Regions from separate parts of the Homo sapiens genome. Here regions 2 and 3 are each linked to region 1. Evidence: promoter capture Hi-C in 16 types of primary human blood cells and fetal thymus (Javierre and others, 2016). All regions are on one chromosome and are shown on one strand. Each heading gives the region's core, a stretch centred on a gene start or on the middle of the fragment in contact. The rest is flanking DNA. Distances are from core to core; before and after follow the strand shown.

What was found. The method cuts DNA at HindIII sites, captures the fragments that hold promoters and counts their contacts. A CHiCAGO score of 5 or more calls a contact.
Region 2: a fragment that was not itself captured here is called in contact with the fragment with the promoter of COMMD2 in region 1 in 6 of 17 cell types (naive CD4 T cells, activated CD4 T cells, naive CD8 T cells and 3 more); the score reaches 9.9 in naive CD4 T cells.
Region 3: a contact is called between a fragment that was not itself captured here and the fragment with the promoter of COMMD2 in region 1, in 2 of 17 cell types (naive CD8 T cells and naive CD4 T cells). The highest score is 6.3, in naive CD8 T cells.

Annotation. Positions count from the first base shown.
Region 1 is chr3:149,751,239-149,755,565 of GRCh38, reverse strand. COMMD2 (COMM domain containing 2) reads left to right here and starts at 3,077. Exons shown (of 5, transcript NM_016094.4): 1 at 3,077-3,188; 2 at 3,279-3,356; 3 at 4,081-4,163. The coding sequence starts at 3,122. RefSeq lists a silencer at 2,852-2,921. The HindIII fragment of the contact is 1,089 bases long and covers 2,461-3,549 here.
Region 2 is chr3:148,997,957-149,002,283 of GRCh38, reverse strand. The region is part of intron 4 of GYG1 (glycogenin 1); the gene reads right to left. Among named protein-coding and RNA genes, the nearest start is that of GYG1, 8.6 kb to the right of the region's middle. The HindIII fragment of the contact is 1,285 bases long and covers 1,519-2,803 here.
Region 3 is chr3:149,138,258-149,142,584 of GRCh38, reverse strand. HPS3 (HPS3 biogenesis of lysosomal organelles complex 2 subunit 1) reads right to left here. Exons shown (of 17, transcript NM_032383.5): 2 at 2,087-2,581; 3 at 1,397-1,568; 4 at 1,205-1,290. Among named protein-coding and RNA genes, the nearest start is that of HPS3, 11 kb to the right of the region's middle. The HindIII fragment of the contact is 4,138 bases long and covers 254-4,327 here.

The DNA of each region.
Region 1 (4,327 bases), core at 1,828-4,327:
GAGAAAATAAATGGGAAAATATAAGAGAAAAGAAAGACGTATGAGCTGGAGGGGGATAGAAAGATGCAGAGAGAATGTGAGGGGATGATTGATATGAAGCCTTGTTCTCTACCAGCATCAATTGAAAAAAATACTGAGTATTTATTATTTGTTCACATTCACCCTGGAAGTAAGATAGCATGAAGTGACATTAAGACTGTATATATTTATAATGTAAATCTAATTGTAGAGCATTAGTATTAACATGCACAGGATATGCTGGGACATTTATTCTCAGCCTGATTCTTTTAAATTAGAGTTAATGTACATTCCCTATGCTTCCTTCTCATTTTGTTCATTCTCCAAGTATTGCTACTCATCACACTGTATGGAAATTACTTCATTATCTTTCTCCCTCACTTTTCTGACACCTCCTAGAGGGCAAGGACATTGTTTTATTCATCTACAAATTGCCAAAGCATAGCATATCTTTGAACCTTTAAGGAATTGCTTAATAAAGTTTGTTAAATTAAATGAATGGCTTTTAAGATGATTATTTGTGAATTTATAGGAGCATAAAATCTGCTCCTATAAAATGTAAATGCTGCTGTTTGCTTAATTCTAATTTATTGTTTCATTTGATCATCAAAATCAATTTTTAATGTGAATTTATTAGTTCATCTGAGCATCATAACAGCCCTGCATGGCACAGAAGGGCAGTATTAAAATGCCAGTTTTACAGACGAAGAGGCTATGGTTATAACATAAAAACAACTTATTAGAAGTCATACAGGTAGTGTCAGAGCCAGATCTGGAATCTAGAGTTTTGAATTTTCACTCAGGTAATTTTTTCTAAACAATTATATCACTTATGGCAACAGAAGTCACTCTATAAATTATCCTGGGGTGTTTTAACTCCCAGGCTGGTTTTTCTTGGATATAACTTGGTTTCTTTCTTTTTTTTTTTTTTGACAGTGTCTGACTCTGTCACCCAGGCTGGAGTGCAGTGACTCAAATCTTGCTCACTGCAACCTCTGCCTCGCAGGTTCAAGCAATTTTCATGCCTTGGGCTACCAAGTAGCTGGGACCACAGGTACATGCCACCAAGCTTTGCTAATTTTTGTATTTTTAGTAGAGATGGGGTTTTACCATGTTGGTCAGGCTAGACTTGAATTTCTGGCCTCAAGTGATCCTCCCGCCTTGGCCTTCCAAAGTGCTGGGTTTACAGGCATCAGCCACCATACCTGGCCTAACTTGGTTCCTTGACCACCTTTTTTAGACAGCCTATTGTGCTACTCCCTAGTCTCACCTTCACCTCGCCTGTCCTCACTTCATTCCCTGAGATTACAGACAAGAAAGGCCATTTCATATTGGCATAATATTGTGTCTATTTGCAAATTCATTTCAGCATTCCTACTCCCTATATATGTACAGTTCTTGAATACCTCTTTTGAATCAGTTGAAACTGGTTTTTACTGTAATCTCTCATTAATTACAGAATGCTGTAATTCTCTCATTAATTAACTAGTTCAATACATTTTTTGACATGTGTTCATTGTACACTTGTAGAAGAATCATGATTTTACCTTTTCTGAAAATTATTCTTTAATAATGGATGTTTTCTCAATAATGTGTGAATAAAGGCAACTTCAGGAAATGATGCAATTTTTGCTAATCTGCAATTCACAGTCTAAGTAAAAGTTGTGTTCTCTCTGCAAATGCTACTTCAAGAACTAACTAATAAGTTCAAGGACCTGTCTTTCTGTGTCCCAGTGGAAGAAACAATTTCAGTCAGATGTGAAGGACAAAGTAGACACAGAGAAGTGAATTGAAAAACTCTTCCAATTTTTAGTCTGCCTGGGAGACTCAGAATATAGAGTTGTCTCAAGCCTTAGATAGAAAAGACAGATATGAAGAGTCTTCTTCCCTTCCCCTCTCTTCCTCCACACCCTCCATTTTCAAGGGGTTAAGATTTGAAGAATCATATTCCTATCAATTAGCAACTTTATCATCTCTGATATTTGAACCACAGCAGGTGAGAAGAGAGTTGGAAAAGGAACTAAATTATCACAGGCGCTAAATACTTTTTAAAAGGCATTGCTCTGGGCCAGGTGTGGTGGTTCATGCTTGTAATCCCAGCACTTTGGGAGGCCAAGTTGGCTGGATGACTTGAGGTCAGGAGTTCAAGACCAGCCTGGCCAACATGGTGAAAACCCGTCTCTACTAAAAATACAAACATTAGCCAGGCATGGTGGTGGGCGCTTGTAATACCAGCTACTCGGGAGGCTGAGGCAGGAGAATCGCTTGAACCCGGGAGGCAGAGGTTGCAGTGAGCCGGGCGACAGAGCGAGACTCCATGTAAAAAACAAAACAAAACAAAACAAACAAACAAAAACATTGCTCTGAATCCTGTAAGCATCGGTCATTGTCATCATTATCTTTATCCTAATTTATAATCACTCATAAAACTTGTCAGAAGCTTTCAGCTTTCAGGCTGTTATGTAGAAGGATGGGCTTTGCAGCAGGTAAGTGAGGGATCCAACCCTCTCCATCTAACTCTGTCACAGGCTTTGTCACATAATCTCTGGAGCTTTGTGTCTTATCTGTAAAAACAAAGCCATGTTTGTTGAGGATATTAACTGAGATACATTTAAGATAACATAGAAGCTCTGGAAACTATTAGCTTTATAAAAGTGTCAGTTGCTGGACTTGTCTATCAGTTTCCTTATCTCTAATGGAAATTATAATGGAACCTACCTCATAGGGTTCTTCTGAACTCCAAATGTATTTAATAAATGTAAGAACACTTCCTGACACGGTTAGTGCTTAACAAATGTGAACTATTGATATTATTAATGTATGCTCCACGAGGGGGCGTGTCGGATTTGAAACACCTTTTCATCTCCCATAGAGCCTAGCACCTTGCACCCAGCAGGCGCTCACTGCATCTTTGCGGGATGATTTCAATGTTCTGACCTCAGCCTGCGCTGCAGGGAACGTCCGAGTGTAACGCGTTAGTTCGTAGGCCGGAACCCAAAGCTCCGGACGCTGCGACGCCGGAGCCTCTAGGCGCCGGGACACGGGCGCCGGAAGTGGCGAAGGCGGGGTCGGCGCTGCCGGGTGAAATCGTAGGACAGTGAAGATGCTGCTGGAATTGTCCGAGGAGCATAAGGAACACCTGGCCTTCCTGCCTCAAGTGGACAGCGCGGGTCAGCGGGCGTGGGGGCGGTGTTCTGTGGGCTGGGGAGGAGGTCAAAGGCAGCGCCTGGCACTCAACAGCCTTCTGACTTTCATTGCAGTGGTCGCCGAGTTTGGGCGGATTGCTGTGGAATTCCTGAGACGCGGCGCAAACCCAAAAATCTACGAAGGCGCCGCCAGTAAGAAGGGAAAGGGGAAGGCTCCGCAGGCTTCTAGGGCGGTTGCGAGCCATTCCCTGTCTCCCGGGAGAGAAACGGATTATTGCGAGTCCTAGGGTCTTGTTCCGATTGTAGTAGAATAAAACCAGCAGAGCTCTTCAGTCAGGGTGCAAATCCTGCCCGTCCCTTAAGTAGCTGTGAGATTGTTAAAGCTTCTATTAAATCAGTTTTCTCATGGTAAAATGTACATAATACCACCTTACTTTCAGAAATACTGAAAAGTGTTTTGTATAAATATACCAAAGTCTGTGGAATAGCTGGGTCAACTGTAAATTGCAAGTATTTGGTTATCATTATTAGTTGTTCAGATATCCGCTTTTGCTAAAAAAAAAAAAAAAAGTGTTGTTTTACCCCTGGGTAAGAGGCAGTCTCTGGGATTAAGTCAATCCCTGTCGAGTTCCTCTTCTGCCAGACTTGAAGGAGCTACGTATTCAAGAGAAGGGCTACGCACCTGATACTAGTCTCCACAGTTCTGCATTTTGTTAAGGTTACTTGGTGGGAAATACCAAAGGCATTTGGCTGGGAGTGGAATGACAAGGAGCAGGAGCCTCTGGCCAACTTACTGTTTTTCATGCAGTGTTTGAAAACATGTAATAATGAATAGTGTTTATTTTTAAATACAAATATGAACAAGATAAATACTACAGTAGTAATTTATTTGCTCGTTTTTACTTTTCTTTCTCAGGAAAACTCAATGTGAGTAGTGACACTGTCCAGCATGGTGTGGAAGGATTAACGTATCTCCTCACTGAGAGCTCAAAGCTCATGGTAAGGGATTTTCTGGACTGTTTTGTGTTGGCTGGATTCTTAAGAACGGTCTGGTGTACTCTACATCATAGTCCTGGCAGGTACCTGTGTGTTTTAATAATGTTGTTAATGGTTTATAATTGATTTTTTGAAGACATACCTAAAAAATAAAAATCATATCATCT
Region 2 (4,327 bases), core at 912-3,411, 750 kb after region 1:
GTTGTTAGATGTCTGTAAGGTCTCAGAATATAAACTTTATAGAGGCAGGAATAAAATCTGTATTATTTACCAGTCTATTTTTGCCCCTTCAATTTAGGATTTTGCCCAGATTAGAAATTAAAATTATGTTTGAAATAATGAATGGACCTACTACAGAAATATAGGTGAGAGGAACCCTTCCAAGAATACATCTAGACTCCATAAAACACTGCAAGACGATGAACTGTGCTGCTGATTTTAAACGACAAAGTATTTTTAGGTATTTTGGATCAGAGGGGAGGAACAGTAGCAATAGAGATAGAAGACTTGAGCCTCCATTCCTTCATTTGTAAAATGAGGAATATACCAGCTGCTCTGTCTACTCAGAGAAATTACTTAATTCATCTGTCATAAAGCCAAGGTAATAGGGATCTTCCTCCATCCCGTATTATTCTCAGGATACATACTCAAGAATGCTGCCATATGAGAGAATTGGGAATGGAAAAACCACCCACCACCACCACCCACCCCACCACAACACATAACCCAACCAGAGTTGAGAAGGACCCTGGTTCAGACCTGACTTTGCCTAGCTCAGAGACATCAGGCAAGCTGCTGCCCTGAACTGTACCAATGGCAGGTCCCCAGTGCTAGCTAGATAGCAGGCTCTCAATTAATATTTGTTATATGAATGGATGTATGAATGCCTACCTCACAGGACTGTTGAGAAATAAGTGAAAAAGTAGGTAAAATGACCAGCATACAAGCCTGCATACATATAACACATTAGTCCCTTCCTCCTCCTCTATTTCTCACAGGGTTCATGATCTCTGACAGTTACAAAGCTGGAGACAGGTGGCTAAGTTAAAAAAGTATATTCACGGGTACAGTGACATAACAATAGCTCTTAAAAAAACTTACGTGTGCTCATTAATTTTGCCATTACATGATATGGCTTTTGCTTTTCCTCAAGATACTTATTATCCAAACTATCAATAAAATGACACAAATGCAAGAGAACACAGTCATTTCCAAAACAACTGATAAATTACTAGAACAGGCAGCCTAGTGCTTGGGTGGCTGGGGGAAGTCACCATGGGAAGATAACTGTCCGGGCTGACCTATCAAGTCAGGGAACCAAGTGAAGCACACCAAAATCTCTCAGCTCATTTGGTTTGGACAAGTACCATCTTGAAATATCTCAGTCCTTCATTCTTTTTTTGGGCAGGTCCAACATGAAGCCTAATTAACTACAAAGATTTTAAAATCTAGCTCTGGGGTCAATTTTACACTTTAATACAATGTAGCACCAAATCATTTCTGTTAAACATTATTTTAAAACATTACTGTACTCTGCTTATGGGACTCAATGACCACTTAGAATTTGGAACACACAAATATAGTGACCTCAAAGCGGATCCTGGACTCTACTTAAATAAATCATACCTAATATTCTGCTACTAATTTATTCTCTCCTATGTTTTCTTCTTTCTAGAAATTCAACTACAGACCAAAATTCCAGTACACCAATCAAAAGCTTAGGATATTTACACTGCAGTAATCAAAATGAGTATAAGATGTTTTTTAAGGATATTCCAAATTACAAAATATGAATTCCTCTGACTTAGGTTTTTGAAACTAACACATACAGACAAAATAGACAATTTTTAAGCACTTAACTCTTCAACTATACAAGCACTCTTAAGATATATTAGTCACAGGGGAAAAGAAAATAAACCTCAACTTGCATTCAGGTTGATTTCTTCAGAGTCAAGTTCATCAGCCTCATTTCACCGATGTGGCAGAAGCAAAACTGCTGATTAGAACCTACAATATAATGAGCTCTCTCTTCCCCTCTTAGTGCTAACATGCCCAGAAGCTAACCTTATCTTGTCACATCCTATACAATACTAGTGTAGAACTATTTCACAACAGCTATTGTTCAACTTTTCGGGAAATATGTAATTACAGTGATGAAGTAAGTGCCAAGACAGTTTGAAAATACAACAGTATAGAAGTTTGACTCTTCATTATGGAAAATTAGACACCAGCCATGAATTCGGTTATGTAGTCACCAGTTCTAAAATCTAACATTATAGAATTTTAGGAAGAAAGAGAAGTCCAGGTACCTCGTATGGTTTGCCATATTAGGATTATTCTCTTGGCCAGAGTCACAGAATAGAGAGGTGGAGAGGCTGTGAATAGAGGGCTGGTGATTAGAAGAATGACAGCCACATTCTTTTGCATGAGAAGGGTTGCAAAAGCAGCTGCAAATGCTCAGCCATCAACAGCCTGTGTGGCTTGTCAGTGGACATCAGGCCCCACCAGTTTCTGATGAACACAGGAAAGAGGTTAAAAACATGACCTGCGAGATATTCACACTGAGATACAGTCATCTGTAAAACTGGTCTGAGCTGAAAATTCCGGGACTTAAAACTGACTATGGGGGTGGTGGAGGGAGAAACTATGGTTGTGAGAAAATGTGGGTAACTGTGAAAGGAACACCTGAAAATGTTCATCAGTGCCTACAGCACAACACCTAACCAAAATTATTTTTATATAATTCTTAATTTTTATATTTAAGACTATTTACTTTTACTATATTTATAATTTTTATATAATAACATATTGAAAACCAGAGGCAAAGGTTACTGCCATTAGACAAAGTCATTGTCCATAAAGAAATATTTTATTGCTATCAAGCATAAGTCCAACACATCTTTATGTCACACAGTTCACACATTGATTCAAGTGGATAGTAAACCCCTCCAGAGAGAAGCAGCCTCCCAAGGTATAGAGTGAGCTTTCTTTGCTAAGTAAAGCTTAACACATATTTCAAGTGAACACAACCTTTGATTCGAGAACTGCTAATTCATTCTTCTGCTGAATTTAAACAACATATTGAGAACCATAAGTTCTCAGCTGCATAGATGACTTTTTACCTCTTTCAATTTCTATTAACAGAGAAGATTCAGTCCTTCACCACCAATGAGCCAGTAAATGGAATACCTCAGAGGATGGCCAGCACCTGGAAACCTGCTGCTGAATAATGAAATGTGCTAGAGGCACAGACAGAATCTCACGGTGGTTTCAGATTCTGGCTGAAAAAGCAGGAAGTGCTTCCTAGTCGAGCACTCTGCACGCATCCAAGCTTCTTAACAAAGAATAGGTTAGTTAGTTTCATATTCTCAAATTATAACCTAGATAATTTACCACGGCACACTACTGTTTGGTAATCAAAGTCTTACCTCTCAATAACATCTAATCGTTTTCTAGGTTAGAAATTGGATTCTCTTTACATGATTAAAATCATGTGGATTTCAGGCAGTTGGCAGGCCACAAGATATACTTTAGAATGTGATTCACTTACTAAAGCTGAAAAGAGTTACACCGAATTTCTGGCAGGATTACACTTACTTCCTTCAAATTAGGAGAGGAGGTGAAGAAAGCTACACTCTGACGAGAAGGTTAAGACAAACAGTGGACTTCTGCTAAAAACACTCTCCTCTTTTATGCAAAGGTAACTTTCAGTATAAGCAGTAGAAATAAGGAATACATCTTTTGAACTTAAAGGCTAATACAGCTTTCATTCCTTCTATGAAAGGAAAATAGCAGGAGCTAAAAACATGTCAGTAAAGCGAAGAAGTTTCATTCGGCCTTGACCACGGTGAACATTTAACACATTATTATTTTCTTATTTTAAGGTTGCTTAAAACAAGACTTCACTTCTTGTTAGATGCTGCCATACATTATGGTTCAGATACTCCTGCTCTGTTTTAGAGCATGTAGAGAGCAGAGTTTCGCAACCTCAGCACTACTGACATGCTGGGCTAGGTAATTCTTTGTTGGAAGAAATCGTCTTGTGCATTGTAGGATGTTTAGCATCCTGGACCTCCACTCATCAGATGCCCTTTGCACCCTCCCCCTTCAGTTGTAACAACCAAAAATGTCTCCAGACATTGCCAAATGTCCTTTGGGGGACATAATCACCCTTGTTTTGAGAACTATTAGCTTACAGCATAAACAAGCTAAATAGTGAAATAAAACTGAGACTTAAACTTCCCTATTATTTTCAATTACATTTCATATATAGCCACAATTCCCAAATCCTCAGCCAAATAACTAAAAATAATTCAATTTCTGTGAATAGCAACAATGAAAACCCAATCTCAGCTTTATGTATAATTTGAAATGTTTTAACTTCCAGTATCTTCACCTCAGCAATCTAACAAACTTATAGGTCTAATGTTTTCATTTTTAAAGTTTAATATTTTTTTAACTTTCTAACCAATTAATAAAAATGAATTCTCATATCTGCACCCAGGACTGAATCTTTTGTCAAATGAGA
Region 3 (4,327 bases), core at 1,073-3,572, 610 kb after region 1:
TCAGGCCAGAACTGAGTGCAGGGCCTATTAGTGATTCTCAATCATGGTGCCCATTAGACTCTTGGGGAGTTTTTAAAAAATACTAATGCCCAGGCCCTGTAACTGATATCTTGCATGTAGAGCCTGAGTATCAATATCTTAAAAAGCATTCAGGTAAGCCCATTGTGTGGCAGGGTTGAAAACAACTGCTCTAAATTATTTTCCATTCAGTCCACATTTTTACACCTAATTCACAAGCCAATCATAAGAAGCTTGGCCAAATACCCAGCTAGAACCCACACATACCTTGGCTCTAACAGGTCTCCAATTTCCTTTTTGGGCCTAGAGGCCATTTCAAAAAGGGAAATGAGTTCAGTCTGTCATGCCTTCTCCATGGCTTCTCCTAGCAGGTATGACTTCCCTTTCTAGTACTCATAGGTATTTGCTAAGGATTTTGGGCCGGGTGTGGTGGCTCACACCTGTAATCCCAGCACTTTGGGAGGCCGAGGTGGGCGGATCAATGAGGTCGGGAGTTCGAGACCAGCCTGACCAACATGGAGAAACCCCATCTCTACTAAAAATACAAAATTAGCTGGGCGTGGTGGGGCATTCCTGTAATCCCAGCTACTCGGGAGTCTGAGGCAGGAGAATCACTTGAACCCGGGAGGTGGAGGTTGCAGTGAGCCAAGATCATACCATTGCACTCCAGCCTGGACAACAAGAGCAAAACTCTGTCTCAAGAAAAAAAATAATAAATAATAATAAAATAGAGGTCGGGTGTGGTGGCTCATGCCTGTAATCCTAGCACTTTGGGAGGCCAACACAGGCAGATCACAAAGTCAGGAGATCGAGACCATCCTGCCCAACATGGTGAAACCCCGTCTCTGCTAAAAATACAAAAAAATTTAGCCGGGCTTGGTGGCGGGCGCCTGTAGTCCCAGCTACTCGGGAGGCTGAGGCAGGAGAATCACTTGAACCCAGGAAGTAGAAGTTGCAGTGAGCCGAGATCGCACCACTGCACTCCAGACTGGCAATAAAGCGAGACTCAGTCTCAAAAAAAAAAAAAAAAAAAAACAAAAAAAAAAACTTTGTTAAAGGGCCACAAGGAGACTCCAGTGGAAGAACCAAACCACCAAACCTATTACCCACATGGGTCTTCACTCCCAGCCCAGACAGAGCATTTTCACCTTGCTGCACTGTCGCACTCCTGCACTGTCATGCTTACCGGTCTGGTAAATGGGTAGCAGCTGGAGGGAATGTAGCTTGATGTCATCAGACAAGACATAGGACGAAATATCAGGAGCAAAACGTCTGTGGGTTTAAAAAGACAGAGAAAGGGAAAAATATAACTTCCATGTACTTTAAGCAGGCATATATACATAAAATGCTGGTAAAAAAAAAAAAAGCACTATAATACCTATAGAGCAGGTGCTGAAAGTGGGAATATTTTCTTTTTTCATCAGCTAATCCCGTAGACTCCAGTGTAACAGATAATCCAGACTGTTCACTTTTTTCACCAAGAAGTTCCAGGGGCTTCTGGCAGATGACAAAATCATCTGACTCAAGCTGTGAAATTTCATTACTGATGCCTTAAAAAAATAAAATGTAACAGTCCTGCTTGAATGAAAATTAGATTTTACAACATCCTCTCACCAATTAGACATATAGTAATTTCATTTATTTATAATATGCACACATTTACAAGGCACTGTGGTTGTGAAAAGACTTAGCACTTGCTCATTTAATCTCCACAACTGATAAAGTACAACAGGGTAGGTATTATCATCCCCATTTTACAAATGAGGATGTTGAAACTCAGAGATGGTATTATTAACCCAAGGTCATTCAACTAGTAACTATGAGGACTAGGACTAGAAGCCCCTCATCTAGCAGTGGTTGTTCCATTACTTCTACTGATAAATATATTCACATGCTACAGAGTAAGCTATGGACAGCCAGATCATAAAACCAAATCCCATGAAATAGGAATAACTAAATCTATAAATAACATGGCCGGGCACCATATATACCACAGACCTTCAGACTGCCAAAGGTGAAGGTTTTCTATATTCCTAAAACAAGAAAGCAAGTCAAATTCATTATTTACCTTCTTCTGTCCGTCTTATTCGATTGTTGGTCTTATGTGGATGGTGGTGAACTCTCTCTCCATTTTTAGGGCCTGACTCCAGTTTTACGATTAAGACTTCTAAGTCTGACATGACAGCAACATATCCAACACAAAAAGAAACCTCAACAGGAGTGATATTATCTATGTGTATAATTAAAGAACGTTCAAAGTCCAATAGTGAGAATTCCTCATTAATGATCTGGTACTTCAAACTAAATAAGACTAATTTATTTGTGCAGCCAACGAGAAGGTCTCCTTTCACAGGGCAACAGGAAATGCACAAGGGGGCCTCCGAAAGCGGCATTTCAATAATGTACATCTGGTCTCTGAAGGCTTTGCTGAATGGTCCCTCCACATTATGCCCAATCATTCGGATACACACACGAGAGTTTTCAGTCCTTTTATTTCTCCAGTTCACATAAGCACGTAGAAATGTAGCTTTGTTTTTCTCTTCAATTGCTACCAAATAATCTCCTGAGAAGGAATGAAGATTATACTGAGAATTTGTAATTAGAAATACAACCACCTCCCTTGCTGACATGAGTACTATTAATGAATTCTAACACAAATGGTCGAATTAAAGACTGAATAGAATAAAACCCTAAGTAACAAAATCTTAGGTGTATTTTTGACTGACATTAGGCTTTGAGGTTCTGAAATGCAATCTCTCCCATCTGAGTGTCTTAAGACAACCTATTAATTGCCCATGTAACATACAGAAAGTTCATATAAGGAATAAAATGTAAAATTAAGTGTTTACTGTAGCTCTAAATCTGCAGTTCTAACAAAGCTCTACTGACACAGAATTCACTATTAGGGTGACACCAAAATTAGGTATACATTAAGGAATTCTCAGATTAGCAGAATTTACATTTCAAACCCTCTCCTTCCCACAAGTCACAAGTCTGAGAAACAGGATAAAGTTGGAAATAGCAAAGAAAATACAGATCCAAGTTAATTTTCTCTAAATTGTTGATTGTATAAGTTTTAACTTATAAACATATATTGGTTGTGGGAAGTCAAAATGGTAACGTGGTAAAGAGATGCAAAATGAAAAGCATAATGATCTCCCCCTTGAGGACCCAATGTTAACACACAGCCTGGTATGTGCCTTTCAACACCTTTCTCTCATATAAACAGAGATCACAGAGAGGTATTCTGTCTTTTTTAAAAATGAACAAAAACTAAAATGTAATCATATTAAATATATTTAACAATCTGCAACTTTTAAAAATTATTAATAAATCTCTCCCTCCAGGCTGATACATGGATATCTAACATCCTTTTCAATATGTTCAACATCCCATATGTACATACATACGCATAATTTATTCAATAATTCCCTTACTGATAAGCATTCAAATATATTTCCAGGGTTTTTTGCCACTATGTTTCATAGTAATACATAGGCTTATATCTATATATTTATTTACTGGGGGATTTATTTTAACGGTACAGATTCCCAAAAGTGAGATATGTTGGGCCAAAGGGCATGGGCATTTTAAATTTCAATATTGCCCAATTACTATCAATTAGATAATAGAAATTCATGTTACCAGCAGCAGTGCTTAAACACACCTGTTTCCCCACATCCTCACTAGCACTGACTCTACACAATGAGAGAAACATGGACTCTCACGGCTATTATAATTTACATTTCCTAGACCTTTTTATAAAGCTGGCCATCTTTTCCTACGTTTATCAGCCATGTATAGTTTCTCTTCTGCATGATGTCCAATTTTTATTAAGTTGTTCATTTGTTTTTCTTATCATGACACTGTAGCTCTCTACTTAAAAGGGATATAAACCTTTTGTCGTCTATAAATAGTAAATGGTTTTAGAGTCTATTTTCTGATTTTGACTTTGCTGATGGCATGTTTTACCATACCCTTTTTATTTAGAGTATACTATATGTATCTTTTCCTCCTTGCCTTCTGAGTTCCCATCCATGTCCTCCAAATTACATAAATATGCTCCTATATTTTCTTCTATTTTAGTGGAGGTTTAGAAAATATACATTTTTAATCTTTAGAATTTTGCGGGTAAAGAAGGAGATAAGTCAGAGGATCTAATGTCACTTCTTCCAAATGTAGACTCTATTATATTAACACTATTAAGCAAATTGGCCCTTTTCCGATGAATTGAAATTGAAATGCTGCCATTACATTGACTTCCCATGTACTTATGAGGCAAGCAAACAGGTGCTGCCCCTTTCTGCAG